Linked DNA regions of Homo sapiens: region 2 is linked to region 1. The links are contacts of gene promoters, found by promoter capture Hi-C in blood cells and fetal thymus (Javierre and others, 2016). All regions are on one chromosome and are shown on one strand. The core of a region is centred on a gene start or on the middle of the fragment in contact, and the rest is flanking DNA. Distances in the headings are between cores, read along the strand shown. Region 1 holds the start of SEPTIN9 (septin 9). Region 2 has its middle 110 kb from the start of MIR4316.

Region 1 (5,522 bases), core at 2,273-4,772:
AGGTTACAGAGCAGGCATTTCTCAGCTTTTTCAAATATGAACTCGTTTAACCTTTACAACAACATAGCACTGTCCCATTTAACAAATGAGGCAGGCTGGGCGTGGTGGCTCATGCCTGTAATCACAGCACTTTGGGAGGCCAAGGCAGGCAGATCACGAGGTCAGGAGTTCGAGATCAGCCTGACCAACATGGTGAAACCCCATCTCTAGTAAAAATATAAAAATTAGCTGGGCGCAGTGGCACGTTCCTACAATCCCAGCCACTCAGGAGGCTGAGGCAGGAGAATCACTTGAACCTGGGAGGCGGAGGTTGCAGTAAGCTGAGATCATGCCATTGCACTCCAGCCTGGGAGACAGAGTGAGACTCCGTCTCAAAAATAAATAAATAAATAAAATTAAAAAACACCACACACACAAAAAAACAAATGAGGCAAATGAGATGCATGAGGTGAGAACCTTGTGCCACAGGGAGAGGCGCAGCCTGGTGAGATTTAATCCCAAGGGGCTGGCGGCTCTGAGCCCCCAAGTGTAACCACTGGACCACACTGCCTGTAGACTACCACTACCTCCACCCCATTGGAAGGCCGGGTGAGGCAATCGGGAAAGCCTGGAGCAGCAGTGGAGCTGCCAGAGAGAACCTGTCCCCAGTGTCCCCCTGGATCCTGCAGCTGCCCTGTGTGGGCCCTTGCTGCCTTCCGCATTGGAAAAGACCTTCTTACAGATGGGGTCTCATGACGCCACCCAGGCTGGAGTGCCGTGTCTATTTCCAGGCGCTGTCACAGGGCTGCAGCCTTGAACTCCTGGCTTCAAGCGATCCTCCTGTCTCAGCCTCCTGAGTAGCCTCCTGGGCTCAAGCGATCCTCGTGTCTCAGCCTCCTGAGTAGCCTCCTGGGCTCAAGCGATCCTCGTGTCTCAGCCTCCTGAGTAGCTGGGACTTCAAGCGCACCTGGCCAAGTCCCTTTTTATTCTCCACTACTCAAGACTTCTCCTTCCTCAAGGCCCAGCTCAATCTCACCTCCACCTAAAACCTCCGGGGCATTCCTGTAGTATTTGGAGGCTGAACTGCTCAGGAGGGAAGGGTGTTAATGAGCTGGTGTCTCGCCCTCATCCTGACTCCCGGTGAGAATGTAAGTTCTCTGCAGGCAAGGACTATATCTCATTACCATTTCTGTACCCACTCAGACTTGGCCATGTGTGCCCAGCACATAAAGTGTCTTCGATGACTGTCTATAGACCCACGGTACTTGAGATTGCCCCAACACATCCTTCTAAAATCTTTCTCCTTTTCAGAGGCTCACGAATGTTCAAACCAGGTCTACCGGGAACAACATTATGGTCATTCCGTTTATTCTGAAGCCCACATACAGGTCTGGAAGCAATAATCCCGCACAGTCTAGATGAAAAAATAAAGACCTTCCTGTTGTCCTTGGATTGTCAGAGCCTTGGGGGATTTTTAACATCTTTTGCTGCTTTCCTTAATTTCATGGTGTCGATGGCTTGTTGGGGGGTCAGCCTGACTCCTGCGAGTGCCCGTACCCGGAAAAGGGCTGGTGCCAAGACAGCTCCAGGACACTCAGAATGAGGGCAAGAGGCCACCCCCACCATCAGCCCCCTCCAGTCCCACTCCATACAACTGCAACACAGTGACCCAGCACACCTTGGGCCACTGCCAAGCAGGGAGCAAACCAGAAATGGTCTGAGCCCTCCCTTCCCCCATCCTCAGAGGGGCCTGCCCCTTTAGGTAAACACAAGGAGGCACCGAGGCTGCTGTACAAGAGTTGGTTCCTGCTCACTCCACAAACTCTACTTCCACCTACTGCAAAAGGTTCTGTCCTTTTTTTTAAAAAAAAAAAAAAAAAAGAAACCCAGTGAGGGGTGGGGTAGGTGTGTGTGGAGGAGAGGAGAAAAGGACAAGTGATGGTCTCCCCACCTCCCAGTAAGCCGCAGGTGCAGAGACTCCAAGCCTGCCTCAGGGCCCTTCCGGCATCTGTGCAGGAGGGTCTCCGCAGAAAAAACCCAGGACCCACGACCTGGGAGGACCCCGGTCACCCCCACTGTCTGGACCCACCAGTGGGAGGTAAAGTGTAAGAAACCAAGGGCAAAGGGCCCTCCCTGGGCGGGCTAGAGATCCCCTGGAAAGGGCCATGCACCGCGCGATCCCCACAACAATCTCAAGTATTTGGAGCATGTTGGGGAGGAAGCCCCGGTGCCAAAACCAAGCATGTGCCACCTGGAAGCCCGCTCCCGCCCACCAGCACACCAACCCACCCACGCTCCTGACAGAGCTGTGCTCCGGGTGCGTAGAGGGCCATCTTGTTCGCAACAACCGGGTGAAAGTTGAAATTCTAAGCTACTGACCCAGAAGGGTATTTTCGGGGAAGTTCTGAGTAATCCTCTTTGAGACAAGGTACTTTATCACTCATTTTGGTTCCTAAATATGGAAAGCCAGAGGAAACCGACAATGGCCCAAAGGCAGGGGGATGGCCCCGATGACTCCTTCACCTCCAACTAAGGCCCATGATTCTGTTCTCCTATCAATAAAAATTAATTCATGGATCCTTGGCAGGTACCTTTCTATCTGAATGAATTAAAGGAGGGACATTAAACAAACGGTTTCTAGATTTAGAAGAGGAGACGCTATTTATAATTTGAGGACTGAGGAGGACAAAGGATCCTGCCTGCCTGGATCCTTTGGAGAAAACCACAAAGGAAAAAAAAAAGGAAGGAAAAGACAAATAATGAAGATCTGGATTTCTCTTAACCTGCCCTTGTGGCCTCGGTGTGCCCATCTGTGAAATGGAACTTCAGAGTGCCAGAGCGGGAGCCTCTTATGAAATGAAAGCTCCTGAACCGGCTCATGGTGAGGCCCAAGTCAGGCCCCCTTCGCCTACTTAAGGCGGGCCCTGCTAGGGTGGAGTGAGGATGTCAGCCGCGGGCGGCGTCCTGAGCGCAAAACGTGAACCCGAGTCGCCAAGTTTGGGCGCTGCTGGACGGTCCCATCTGGAGGCCGTCCCGTGCCCCACTAAGTAGAGGAGAAACCGAAGAGAATCCGAAGAAAGGATGCTGCGGCCTGGACCACCAGCCCTAGAGGCTGAACCCAAGGACACCCCTCCACCTAGCCCCGACCCCATTCACCCACACAGACGCACAGGGACCCAAAGCACCCGGCCGACCTGGAAAGTCAGCGATTCCTGCGAGGGTGCAAGGGGCGAGGAAGAGGGAGCGTCCCCCAGGGCAGCCCCTCCGACACTCGAGCAAGGGCTGGAGACAGCGCAGGGGACGGTCGGCTCAGGTCGAAAGCGGCCCGACAGCGGCCCTGTCCTGGGAGGAACTCGACCTGCAGTGTGCCCGCCGCGGGGACTCGCTCAGCTCCGGGGGCGCCTCGCCACTCCCGGCCGCAGGCACTCAGGTGAGCAGCGCTGGTCCCGGGACACCGACCCCTCCCCACCCCGGGCGCGAAGCCCACCTGAGTAAGACTTCTTCATGGTGCCTCCGTGGCCGCCGCTCCCAGGAAAGTGTGGCGGCGAGGCAGCGGGGCGCGCGCTCCCAGGGCGCTAATCCTGGGCCGGTAGTAGGAAGGCGGGAAGAGGGGGCGGCCCGCCGTCTGGAGTGCACCGACCGGGCCCCGCCCCGGCCCCGCCCCCGCCCCGCCCCTCCCCGGAGATGCGCATAGAACCCCGGCCCAGCCGGCTGTGGTCCCGCCCCTGACCCGCCCCCTCCCCGCCCCGTGAACGTGCGCGCCGAGCCCCACCCCCGCCCACCCCTGCGCTGCGCTGCACCTGGCGGAGCGGGGCTGGCGGGCGCCGGGCCTGGGAGGGGGCGCCCCCGCGCGGCAGCGCAGACCAGACCAGACCAGGCCAGGCCGGGGGTGGGGGCCGCCTGCGTGGCCCGCCGCGCCCGCAGCTCTGCACCCCCAGCTCCCCGCGCTGGCGCCAATGGCTGGTTCCGGGAGTCGCCGCACTTCCCAGTCCCGAGTCCGGGCGGGGCGGGCCCGGCCAGGTGGAAGCGGGCGGAGGTGCGGGCGCTCCGGGCGGCCCCGCCGGGCGAGGCGGCGGCGCCGGGCACCGCGGCGGCGCCGGGCACAGCCGGGGGTCGGAGCCGGGGTGCCGGCTTAGTGGGCCGGGGTAGGGCGGGACAGGACACCTGTCCTGCTACTTTTCTGGTAATCAAAAGGGCAGAGTGCGTCGATTGAGTTGGAGCCTTAGTTTCCTCACCTGTAAATGGGCGCGTTGGACAGATGATCATTTGTTCTCCCTGCGCTGGGCACCGTGCGCAGCTCGGTGTATCGGTGCAGCGGGGCAGACACAGGGAGCCGCCCTTTACAACTCGGGTAACGCAGGCAGTGGTGAGAGGATGCAAAACTTGCACGGAAGAATTCTCTCTACTTGGATATCCTTAAAGTCTCCACGATAAAGCGGTGTTTCCAACGTACAGAGGAAGAAGTGACTAATTATGACTGGAGGGTGGTGTCAGAGTTTTATTGAGGCGAAATCAAAACAGGGTTTTAAGGAATGAGCAGGAATTAGCCAGGCAGCCAAGGTGATGGAAGGCAGCTGTTCCCGAAAGAGGGAAGGGCGTGGCGGAGCCTGGGAGGCCTGAGGTATCACAGCGAGTGTGGAGAGACAGAGGCAGGGCCGGGCCCTTGCACAGCTGCCAATGGAGGCCGTAGAGGACGAGAGGAAGGCGGGAGGCCAGTTGGGAAGCGCTCGCTAGTTCTGGGTAGGGGCGCAGCATTGCCTTCTCCTGCAGCCCTCCCAAAAATGCACAGGAGGCTGAAAGTGTCACTAACAGCCCCGAAAAATCCTCCTCCTCTTCCCCTCTCCTTTACTCTCCTTGGGGGTCCAAGAAGCATTTTCATTTCCTGCCTGAGTGTGGGAAACTTATATGCATGAGAACGGAGGCCTATGTGGCACCGTGGGTTCGTTCCGGCCCACCTGCTTCCTTTCTTGAGTAATCTGTCCAGCCACAGCCCTGCAGAGGGAGCAGCCCAGCCAGAGGAGTTTCCCCTCACCCCAGGTAGAGCTGATTGGACCGGAGTGGACACTGGACTTCAACTGAGTCCACCCCTTTCCTTATCTGGGGGTTAGAGGCTCAGGAGGCCTCGGGAGGGAAGTGCTGTAAGGGAGGGGAGCAGGGAGTATGGACGAATTGTGAACAGCGTCCTGGATTCTGGGATGTCCACACCCTAACCGCAACCCCCACCCACACGCCCACTCACCGCTTGTACCAGCACCAGCAGATTCCGGCTTAGGCCGTGTCCTGACTTGGCCAGCAAGCACCATGATGACACTGCCCCCAGCCTAGCCATGATGACACTGCCACGAGCCTAATGCCTGGGATTCCCAAAGTCCAGCGGTGTCTCAAGAATCTGGGTTATGGGTGCATTGCTGGCTTTGTCCATTTTACTCAGCACAAGTCAGAGGTGCCCTGGAGCACAGTCACCCTGAGGATGCCAGCCCTGGCTGTTCCCTGGCTTTGGGTAGGTGGGTTCCTCTGCGGATGCTCACGCTTCTGCCTGGGGT
Region 2 (5,322 bases), core at 831-3,330, 230 kb before region 1:
CACAGATCTTAAGTGTAAAATTCAATGAGTTGGTAAATGTGTAAATACATGCTACCAGAAAACCAATAGCCTATTTACATCATCCCAGGCCATTCACATTGAGTCTCCACCTCCCCATAGGCAACCAGAGTTCTGGTTTTTATCACTATGGATTAATTTTACCTCTTCTTTTTTTGATTATTTATTTATTTATTTATTTATTTATTTATTTATTTATTTATTTATTTTGAGACGGAGTCTTGCTCTGTTGCCCAGACCGGGGGAGTGCAATGGCACAGTCGCAGCTTGCTGCAACCCCCATCTCCTGGGTTTGAGCAATCCTCCTGCCTCAGCCTCCTGAGTAGCTGGGATTACAGGCACGTACTACCACACCTGGCTAATTTTTGTATTTTTAGTAGAGACGGGGTTTTACCATGTTGGCCAGGCTGGTCTTGAACTCCTGACCTCAAGTGATCCACCCGCCTCGGCCTCTCAAAATGCTGGGATTACAGGCATGAGCCACTGCACCTGGCCAGTTTTGCCTCTTCTTGCATTTCATTCTCCGTGGAATTAAATACTATGTGCCCTTTGCAATAGGCTTTTCTGTTCAACATAACATTTTAAAGAATGAAGCATGTTGTTACATGTACCAGTAGTTCATTTTTAATTGCTAAGTCAAATTCCATTGTATACATATATCAAAATTCTTCTATTGATGAACATCTGTGTGTTTTCCGGTTTGTCTCTATTTTAAATCCAGCTTTTATGAATAGAAGCATTCCAGCACAAGTCTCTGTGTGCTTTGTGGACCATTCTTTCCCACGCTTTGCCTCTCTCGCCTCTTTTTACCATCATAGCCTGGCTTCCAAATAGCTACTTCTCACAGCTCAGTCTGAGTTAGGTGCCACCCCCTGGTTTCCATCACCCTCTATGCCAGCTCTGTCATCACACCTAATATCTTGAGTGTAGTTATGATAGAGTCATCTGTCTTTCCAGACTACAAACTCCTGGACAGAGGTTGTCCTGTCCTTTATGACTTAGATTCCTGGTAGTGAGCCTAGAGTCTAGCACATAGAGGTTCTCAAAAAAAGAAAAAAAAATCTTAAATGAACAAATAGGTAACTGCACAAATAAAGACAGATGAGCAAAATTAACACTAGCACATTCAGGAAGCAGTGAGGAGACTGGCCTAATAGTAGAATGTAGAAAGGTGGGTAGATTACACCTCTCAGCAGATTTTAATCCATACTGATGACCAACCTAGAAGAGGAATTCAGAGCTTTGAAGACATGCACGATTACAAGGAGCAAGTTCAGTTTCCTTTCGGAGATGCTGAGCATTAAATTAAACTTTCTAATACCTGAAAAGCAGCCTCAACACGATCTGCACACTTCTTTGTGCTCTGCAGCTGACAGGGGATGGGGAGTGGCAAATATCGGCCTTTGGAGCATTAAAGAGGAAGCTATTAAGGCTGCATATTTTTTCAAAAAGAAAGAGTACAAAGAATTACAAGAAACCCCCTAAATTACAAGTGTGGGTTACAGTAATTGCTAAATTACAGAGCTCCAACTTTATTAGATACACACCCCCTCAGATTCTACAGTTTTCAAGGGCTGCCTTGAGCTGACAAAAGCTAGAAAGCTCTGTGGGAAGTGTGGCGGGGAGCTGAGCAGGTTAGCTAATGGGAGCCCCCTTTATGGGCGAGGCCAGGACACAGAAATCTGGACCAGGACCAATGAAGTTTTTGTTTTCTGGTGTTAAATTACCCTGGGGGGCAATACAGCCTGTGCTGGGGTTTGGAAGTAGGACTGGGATGTTAGCATTTTTTTCATATGTGGAAGCAGCAGTGGCCTATGGCCAATTGCTATGGAATCCTGAGAATTCTTTCAGGGTCTTTGAAGTGATTGGGTTCAGGCCCAGAATGCCCTTCATCAGGATAGTATCTGTTATTATTTTTACCATTCCCAGCTGAAAGCTTCAAGAATAAGATCTTTCATCCTCTGAAAGTTACCACCCATCTCTGCACTGTTGCAATATCCTGTTTAACAACACTCACCTTTATACACCATGTTTACATCCTCAAAGCCCTCTGACCTTTCTAATACAGGCACACATTACGTTTTTCATACTGTCCTCTTCTCTCTCAAACACTTACTTAAGGGAAAGACCTGATCCTACTTTCAAAACATTTGAAGTGAGTGGTTAAGTGACTTTAACTGAAGCTTCACTAAAGCCCAGATCCAAGTCAACTGCATATTAGATTGACTCAGTCCCTCACACTAATGGCCCAATAGAAGAAGGGTACATTCTTTTTCCAGGAGACATATACTTACTATAGGCACTACTTTTTAAAAAATATACTACATTTCAGACTAAAAAAATTGCAAGACATGCAAAGAAGCAGGGCAATGAGACTAATAATCAGGGGAAAAATTACCAATAGAAGTAGACCCACAGATGACTGAGTGTTGGAATTATTAGACAAGGACCTTAAATAAACTAAAATAGAGATGTTAAAAGATCTAGTGGGAAAGGTAGACAGCATGTGTGAACAGATGGGAAATTTCAGCACAGAAATGGAAACTATAAAATAACCAAATGGAAATTCTAGAGATGAAAACTGTAATATTAGATACAAAGAGTTTGTTTGATGGGTTTAACAGCAGATTGAACACAGTAGAAGAAAAGATCAATAAAACTGAAAGGATCTTAAAGACTAGTCAATAGAAATTATCCAAACTAAAATTCAAACAGAAAAATAATTAACAAAATAAAAATTTAAAAAAGAACAGAGTGTTGAAGAACTGTGGAAAAATATTAACATACATGAAATTGGAGCACCAGAAAGAGAAGAAAAGGAGCATAAGGCAGAGTAAATATTTGAGGAATAGTTGTTGAGAATTTTCCAAAATCTAAAAAGATCAGCCAATAGATCCAAGAAACTCAATGAATGCATACTGTATTAGTCCATTTTCACACTACTATAAAGAAGTATCTGAGGCAGGGCACGGTGGCTCACACCTGTAATCCCAGCACTTTGGGAGGCCAAGGTGGGTGGATCACGAGGTCAGGAGTTCAAGACCAGACCAACATGGTGAAACCCCATCTCTACTAAAAACTACAAAAATTAGCCAGGCGGGGTGGCATGTGCCTGTAATCCCAGCTACCCAGGAGGCCAAGGCAGGAGAATGCTTGAACCCAGGAGGCGGAGGTTACAGTGAGGTGAGATTGCGCCATTGCACTCCAGCCTGGACAACAGAGTGAGACTCTGTCTCAAAAAAAAAAAAATCTAAGATTGTGTAATTTATAAAGAATATAAAGGGCGTAACTGACACTCAGCACTGGCCCTGCCAACAAGGGTAGGTGCCCCTCCTCTGGGAACCTTCCCCGGTGGCCCCCATGTACCTCTGTCATGGCACTGGCTTCATTGTATTATGATGCTCTGTGTACATGTCTGTCCTCCCCACCCAACCGGCCGCCCACAGGTTCAGAGTCCTGACTTATTTGCCTGCTTTGTTCCTCCAGGGCCCAGCATGGTGCTGCCTCCGTGAATAGGTGCTCCACATTTAAAAATAGATGCTGTGGTTCATGGCCCAGGAGAGAGGTCCCAGTACACAGAGCCAGCCTTGAGCACTTCTTCAGTCTGAGGCAACAGGGAGCCTGCCACCCCCACCCCCACCCCTACTGTGGGCAGTGAAGTGCAGTGGATGCCACTGGACCACAGATCAGACAGTGTTTTACATCCTGACTCAGTCCCTCACCAGCTGTGCACCCTGGCCAAGCTCCTTGACCTCTCTGTACCTCAACTTCACCGTGATGGCACCTGCCCCGTGGGACTATTGTGAACATTCAGGGAGAAGCAGTGCAGGGAAGCCTCGTACTGAGGACATGCTCAGAAAGTTGCTACGTCCCAGGAGGAGGGGTGCCAGCCAGGCCTGGGCAGCAAACAGCCCAGCTTCTCCTTTGCTGTCAGCTCTGCCCTCCACTTGGCTGGTTTTTACTCCTTCTGATTCCAGAGCAGAGGAGCAAGATGAGGCCACAGCAGGGCCTTTTTCTTTATTTCAGTTTCAGGATGTTGTTGATGGTGATGATGGAGAAAATGACGATGATATTGATGGTTGTGGTGATAATCGTGATGATGATGGTGATGGTGATGATAATAATTATGGTGACATTGATGGTGCTAGGTAAGGCAGTAGGTACGTTACATGGATGGTAAGGTAGTAGTAGTGATGATGATGGTAATGGTGGTGATGGTGATGTTCATGGAGATGATGGTGATGGTGGTGATGATGGTGATGATCGTGATGCTAATGATGGTGGTGATGATGATGGTGATGGTGGTGATGATGATGGTGATGATGATGGTTGTGGTGATAATGATGGTGACAGAAATAATGATGGGATGATGGTGGTAATGGTAATCACAGTAGTGATGATACTGATGATGGTGATGGTGATGATGATAATGATGGGATGATGGTGATAATGATGGGATGATGGTAGTGGTGATGGTGATCATAGTAGTGATGATACTGATGAAGTGATGATAATGATAATGATGATAATGAGGGAGATGGTGATGATGGTAATGGTGATGATCATGGTGATGGTGATGATGATAATGGTAATAATAGTGACGGTGATGATGGTAATGGTAATGATGATGATGGTGATGGTGTTGATGATGGTGATGAGATGATAATGATGGTAGTGGTGATGATGGTGATAGTGAAAATGATAATGATGGGATAATGGTGGTGGTGATGGTGATCACAGTAGTAATGATATTGATGATGGTGATGGTGATGATCATGATAGTGATGCTGATAATGATGGTGATGATGGTAATGAAGGGATGATGGTAGTAATGATGGCGATCATAGTAGTGATGATACTGATGATGTGATGATAACAATGATGATGATGATGGAGATGGTGATGATGATGGTCATGGTGATGATGGTAGTGATGGTGATGGTGATAGTGATGATAATGATAGTGAGGGTGATGATGGTAATGTTGATAGTGATTACAGTGATGATGATGATGGTGATGATGATGGTGGCGGTGATGTCAATGGTGATAATGATGGCTCACATCTATGAAACACTCATTGGCTAGACACTATTGTAAGTGCCTCACATGAACTAACTCATTTAATCATAACAATCCTATGAATTGGGTACTGTTGTTACCATTTTATAGATGGAGAAACTGAGGCATGGACCCAGGTTAAGTCACCCATCTGAAGTCACTCAGCTGGTAAGTAGAAGAACCAGGATTCAAAACCAGCTCCAGAGAAAACTGCCCTTTGATGACCTTTGCAAATGAACACAGTCT

What was found. Contacts are between HindIII fragments. The CHiCAGO score rates a contact against its expected background, and 5 or more counts as called.
Region 2: a fragment that was not itself captured here is called in contact with the fragment with the promoter of SEPTIN9 in region 1 in 2 of 17 cell types (total CD8 T cells and activated CD4 T cells); the score reaches 5.5 in total CD8 T cells.

The regions. Positions count from the first base shown.
Region 1 is chr17:77,279,499-77,285,020 of GRCh38, reverse strand. It overlaps SEPTIN9 (septin 9), which reads right to left and starts at 3,522. Exons shown (of 12, transcript NM_001113491.2): 1 at 3,467-3,522. The coding sequence starts at 3,485. SEPTIN9-DT (SEPTIN9 divergent transcript) reads left to right here and starts at 3,124. Exons shown (of 3, transcript NR_136503.1): 1 at 3,124-3,409. RefSeq lists a silencer at 3,028-3,191 and an enhancer at 4,793-5,440. The HindIII fragment of the contact is 6,769 bases long and covers 1-5,522 here.
Region 2 is chr17:77,508,827-77,514,148 of GRCh38, reverse strand. No RefSeq gene overlaps it. Among named protein-coding and RNA genes, the nearest start is that of MIR4316, 110 kb to the right of the region's middle. The HindIII fragment of the contact is 247 bases long and covers 1,957-2,203 here.